Regions from separate parts of the Homo sapiens genome. Here region 2 is linked to region 1. Evidence: promoter capture Hi-C in human tissues and cell types (Jung and others, 2019). All regions are on one chromosome and are shown on one strand. The core of a region is centred on a gene start or on the middle of the fragment in contact, and the rest is flanking DNA. Distances in the headings are between cores, read along the strand shown. Region 1 holds the start of TRUB2 (TruB pseudouridine synthase family member 2). Region 2 overlaps SPTAN1 (spectrin alpha, non-erythrocytic 1).

Region 1 (2,757 bases), core at 143-2,642:
GGGATTACAGGCGTGAGCCACCACGCCTAGCTAGATTACTTATAATGCCTAATATAATGCCTATGCATCACCTTGAGTGGATTCAACACAGTACTAGGTGCACAGCAAATTCAAGTTTTGCTTTTTGGAACTTTGTGTTTTTCTTCCCAAATACTGCCAATCTGAAGCTGGATCATGGGATGTGGAACTCATGGACTCAGAGGCAACTGTACTTAGTGACACGTGAAAATTACCTGAAGTTCAAATATGAATATTCATAAAGTTCTATTGGAATACAGCTAGGCTCATTCCTTTAGATACTGTCTATAGCTGTTTGGCACTACATTGGCAGAGTTGAGCAGTTCCAACGGAAATCACATGGCCTGAAAACTAAAACATTCAGTATCTGGCCCTTTCCAAGGAAATCTGCCAATTCCTGGTCTAATACCTCACTCCTCTGTGGACCTTCAAGGGCCTGGCACAGGAATCTGAGCACTGGGACACTGACTCGGCTCAGGGATTTCCTGGGAAGTGACACACAGGATCCTGCTTAAATCTGCCTTACCCAGTGGATGGTTGATGAAAGAGGGTACGCTGGTGGCTGTGAGGGTCAGCTCCTTCTCTTCGCTGCCTTCCATGGGGCCCAGCAAGAAGCGAACACGCTGTTTAGGAGCGGGAGGCTTCCTGGCATTGAGACCTGAACACACAGAGATAATATATACACACATACATACAAATATATGTACATATAAAATATTTTTTAAGAGACAGGGCCTCGTTCTGTAGCCCAGGCTGAAGTGCAATGGCGCCATCATAGCTCACTGTAACGTCAAACTCTTGGGCTCAAGCGATCCTCCTGCCTCAGCCTCCAGAGTAGCTGGGATTACAGGCGTGCACCACGATGCTGACCAGGAATATCTTGTTCTGTCCAAACACTTGGGGGATTAGACAACAGGGAAGTATGATGTAGAAGACAAAGCAGAAGCCCATGGTGCAGAGGGCAGTATAGCAGTAGTTAAGAAACAGGCGGATTCAAACAGACTCTACAACGTAGTAACCGTGTGACAAGGAACAATACTGAGTCAGTTTCCCCCTCGGAAAACAGAGGAAAGTGAGGAGTAAGAAAGCACAGAGAACAGGCGTTTGGGAAAGCGCTCTGCCCAGGTGAATAGGTCACGTGATTTTGTTTTGGGGTAAGGACCAGAAGCGGAGATGGACTTCCAAGAGAACGAGAGCGGGAACGTGGGTCTGGTTCGAGGCACTCACCCTTCAGAAGTTGTAGCTCCACTGTATCCCGCAGGTGCTTCCATTTTAGCCCCGGGGGCTTATAGACCGCGAAAAGCCCATGCAGCCGCGACAAGCCAGCAGACCCCATACTTGAAGATCACAGCACCCGCTGGACCTGGACGGAAGTACCGCCAGGCCCCGCCCCCAAATGTGGTCCTTTCCACGGGCGCCGCCATGTTCCACAGCCGGAAGAGGTTCGCATTTTATAGTCTTCGGGGAAAACCGGCTGTGGAGAAGGAAATAGGGCCCGGCGCTGAGTGAGCGTGGTTGCGTGTCCTTTGCAGACACTTTCTGGGGCGAGGTGACATGGCGAGAGTCTTGGATCGGTGGACGTAGACGGTAGACAGTTCGCGTGCGTTTCCTTCGCCTACTTGGCCTACATGCCTTCTGCCCGTGAAGCGATGTTTCCCCTCGAAAGGCCGTAGGCTACGCCGTCAGAATCGGTTTTTCAGTGAGTTTTGACCCCTCCGACGCTCCGTCGCCTGACAGAATCGCGGCGTTCTTCGTACCCGCCCATCCTCCGCGGACGCCCGCTGCCATGGCGACTCTGCTGCGCCCTGTCCTCCGTCGGCTCTGCGGGCTCCCGGGCCTACAGCGGCCTGCGGCAGGCAAGTGGCGCCGGGTTCTGGGCGCAGGCGGGAAGGAGCCTGAGGGCGCCCGGCTCCTCTGACCTCGGCCTTTTTCTTGCCCCGCAGAAATGCCCCTCCGGGCTAGGAGCGACGGCGCCGGCCCGCTATACTCGCACCACCTCCCCACCTCCCCGCTGCAGAAAGGGCTGTTGGCCGCCGGCTCCGCGGCGATGGCGCTCTATAACCCCTACCGCCACGGTAAGGCCGCCCGCGCCTCGCCCCCGTGGGGGCGGCTTGGAGCCGTTTCCTGTGGGTAACTGGAACATAGCCTAGGTCGGGGTACCCAAACCTGGTTGCAGCTCGTAACCACTCGGAACGTTTATGAAAATGCAGATTCCTGGATCCCACCTAAACGCACTGAATCTGAATCTGAATCTGCAGTGGAGGGAGAAATGGGCGTGAAACCGAAAGTCTGTCTTTAAACTACTTGGGAGAATCTGTCATGCAGCCATATTGAGAACATCTAGACTAAATAGATGATTCATAAGTACCGATCAGTTTATAATATCCTACTAGAAAGTCAACTCCGAGGTCGAGGACCATGTCTGCCTCGTTCCACTGCATCTGCAGCCTTCTGGATAGTGCCTGGCACATAGTAAATGCTCAATAAATGTTTGCTGGATGTGTGACTAGAACATTCTAGGGTTCTACAGTGTTTTTCTTATGCCTCCTAGATTTTTGAGTTCTGGGAAGTACTGTTATTCCTACTAACAAAAACAGGCTAGGCGCTATTATAGTGGCTCACGCCTATAATCCCTATCGGGGGGCCGAAGCGGGCAGATGGCTTGAGCTGAGGAGTTTGAAACCAGCCTGGGCAACACGGTGAATCCCCATCTCTACAAAAAAAAATACAAGAATTAAT
Region 2 (2,700 bases), core at 1-2,500, 300 kb after region 1:
GGAGGAGGCTGCCGCAGTGATCTGCGGTCTGAAGGAGAGCAGGAAAGGGGGCATGTGTGACTGAGTCTCAGCAGTGTCCAGGTGGACAGTTTGGCTTGGGCATCTGGGGGACATGCTGGTGCCATCTGAGCCTAGGAAGAGCAAGTTCCAGTCCTGTGGAGTCACCACAAATTGGCTTGTCACTCCTTGTTCAGGAAACTTTTGACGCTGGGCTGCAGGCCTTCCAGCAGGAAGGCATTGCCAACATCACTGCCCTCAAAGATCAGCTTCTCGCCGCCAAACACGTTCAGTCCAAGGCCATCGAGGCCCGGCACGCCTCCCTCATGAAGAGGTGGAGCCAGCTTCTGGCCAACTCAGCCGCCCGCAAGAAGAAGCTTCTGGAGGCTCAGAGTCACTTCCGCAAGGTGAGGATGGGGCCACGTGAAGCTTAGCTGGCCCACAGCTCAAGGAAGGACGCCCACCTTCTGTCTGCCCAGCTCTGCCACTCCCCCTTGAGGAAGCTGTGAGCTCAGTGCAGAGCTTTCAAACATGGGTGTGGCTGGCATCAATTAAAACCAGGGCAAATGAGAGGGCCCTGTGAGATCGCCATTCAGAAGCACGCAGGACAGACTAGAGACAAGGGCAAAGGGTAGGAAGGGGAAAAAAGGCTGGTGAAGACTTGAAGGGGGAGCAGGAGACAGGAGCAGAGGGGAGCTAAGCTCCCAGCAGGCTGTGTGCGCCTCTGATTCCCAGGAACCACCCCGCACCCCACCTCCTGCACTGCGTCGGCACGTCCAGCCCTGGCGACTCCGCCAACTCAGTCTCTTCTGCTTCCAGGTGGAGGACCTCTTCCTGACCTTCGCCAAAAAGGCTTCTGCCTTCAACAGCTGGTTTGAAAATGCAGAGGAGGACTTAACAGACCCCGTGCGCTGCAACTCCTTGGAAGAAATCAAAGCTTTGCGCGAGGCCCACGACGCCTTCCGCTCCTCCCTCAGCTCTGCCCAGGCTGACTTCAACCAGCTGGCCGAGCTGGACCGCCAGATCAAGAGCTTCCGCGTAGCCTCCAACCCCTACACCTGGTTTACCATGGAGGCCCTGGAGGAGACCTGGAGGAACCTACAGAAAATCATCAAGGTACACCTCCCGCTGCCCTCAGGAGCTGCTCGGCCTCCCAGAGCCCTCTCTGGGCCCTGCTCAGAGCCCACACTTAACTGAGTCACGACAAGACGAGCAGGATGGAGGAGCATGGTTTCATCAGAAGTTTCATTTCTTTTTGTGTTCTTGAGGCAGGGTCTCTGTCACCCAGGCTTCAGTGCAGTGGTGCTACCATGGCTCCCTGTAGCCTCAACCTCCCAGGCTCAGGTGATCCTCTTGCCTGAGCCTCTTGAATAACTGGGACTACAAGCACGTGCCACCACGCCTGGCTAATTATTTTAATTTTTGTAGACAGGGTGTTGCTATGTTGCCCAGGCTGGTCTTCAACTCCTGGCCTCAAGCAGTCCTCCTGCCCAGGCCTCCCAAAGTGCTGGGATTACAGGTGTGAGCCACTGTACCCAGCCAGAAGTTTCCATTTCTGACAGTCCAGCAACTCCCTGCTTGACTGACCAGTCGCTTCCCTCCAGGTCCGCCTCTTCCTTGAAGCCCCTGGGGGGTGGGAACAGAGAAAGAACTACCAAGTGCTCTGAGCCGGCCTCATGTCTCCCAGCCTCCTCCTCTCATCTTTGGGGAGGTTCCTTGTGGGGAGGCCACCACCACCCTGAGCCCATCTGTGAAGGAGGGGCTGGTGTCACTGCCACAGCAGCGCACAGCATCTGCCCCCCTTTGGCCCTCAGGAGAGGGAGCTGGAGCTGCAGAAGGAACAGCGGCGGCAGGAGGAGAACGACAAGCTGCGCCAGGAGTTTGCCCAGCACGCCAACGCCTTCCACCAGTGGATCCAAGAGACCAGGTGCCAGCCCGCTGGGGCCGGGGAGCAGCAGCATGTCCCTGCTGTACTTAAGCCCTGGGGAGCTTCCAGCCCCAAGGAGGTGGTGGTGCTTTGTGTAAAACCAGAGGCAGCCTGGGAATAAAGCTGGGCTGGCAACGCCTGGTCGGGCTCTGGAGCCGGGAGTGGGGGCATAGGTGGAGCAGCCTCTCAGTGCTGCATGTCCCAGACATCAAGTTGTTAGAGATCCCGGATTGAGTGGGACCATGCAGGGCGCGTGGTCAGCCCCAGCCATGACTTGGTGACAGACGATGCAGGGTCTGTGCGTTGGGTACTGATGTTCTTGCTTTTGTTTTCCTTTCTTTCTTGTGTCTTCTCTCTGTCCCCCCGATTGCTGCTGTTGTCCGGACACCACCTTGTCTCCCGGCTGCTTGGATCTGCTCTCCACAGGACATACCTCCTCGATGGGTTAATATTGTTTTCTTCCTTCTCTGGGCTTGTCATGTGGGGGTCTCGTGCGCTTGCCCCTCGTGGCCTGGCTTGTGGAGGATCCCGGGATGGGCCTTCCTGCCCAGGGCGGGCTGCACTTCCCCTCCCACCCTTCTCGTCACCTGATGAGGAGTGTGTGCCTTGCCCCATAGCCCATGGTCCCTGGTCCCCGATAGAGCCTTCAAGCCAGGGGGAGCCGTCCTTGCCTCACTGGGCGATTCCAAGGGCTCACTTTGGGTAGGGAAGGTGATGAAGCACGAAGGCCAGAGCTGGAGTCCAGAGGCCCTAAGAACCCCCGTGCCTGTCCAGCC

What was found. Contacts are between HindIII fragments. The study calls those that stand out against the background at their distance.
Region 2: a fragment that was not itself captured here is called in contact with the fragment with the promoter of TRUB2 in region 1 in 1 of the 25 tissues and cell types used here (heart right ventricle).

The regions. Positions count from the first base shown.
Region 1 is chr9:128,321,055-128,323,811 of GRCh38, forward strand. It overlaps TRUB2 (TruB pseudouridine synthase family member 2), which reads right to left and starts at 1,393. Exons shown (of 8, transcript NM_015679.3): 1 at 1,246-1,393; 2 at 545-676. The coding sequence starts at 1,354. It overlaps COQ4 (coenzyme Q4), which reads left to right and starts at 1,785. Exons shown (of 7, transcript NM_016035.5): 1 at 1,785-1,874; 2 at 1,962-2,093. The coding sequence starts at 1,805. RefSeq lists an enhancer at 1,093-1,632 and a silencer at 2,013-2,072. The HindIII fragment of the contact is 10,812 bases long and covers 1-2,757 here.
Region 2 is chr9:128,625,575-128,628,274 of GRCh38, forward strand. It overlaps SPTAN1 (spectrin alpha, non-erythrocytic 1), which reads left to right. Exons shown (of 57, transcript NM_001130438.3): 48 at 195-404; 49 at 817-1,113; 50 at 1,812-1,924; 51 at 2,351-2,368. Among named protein-coding and RNA genes, the nearest start is that of DYNC2I2, 30 kb to the right of the region's middle. RefSeq lists an enhancer at 1,448-2,093. The HindIII fragment of the contact is 6,522 bases long and covers 1-2,700 here.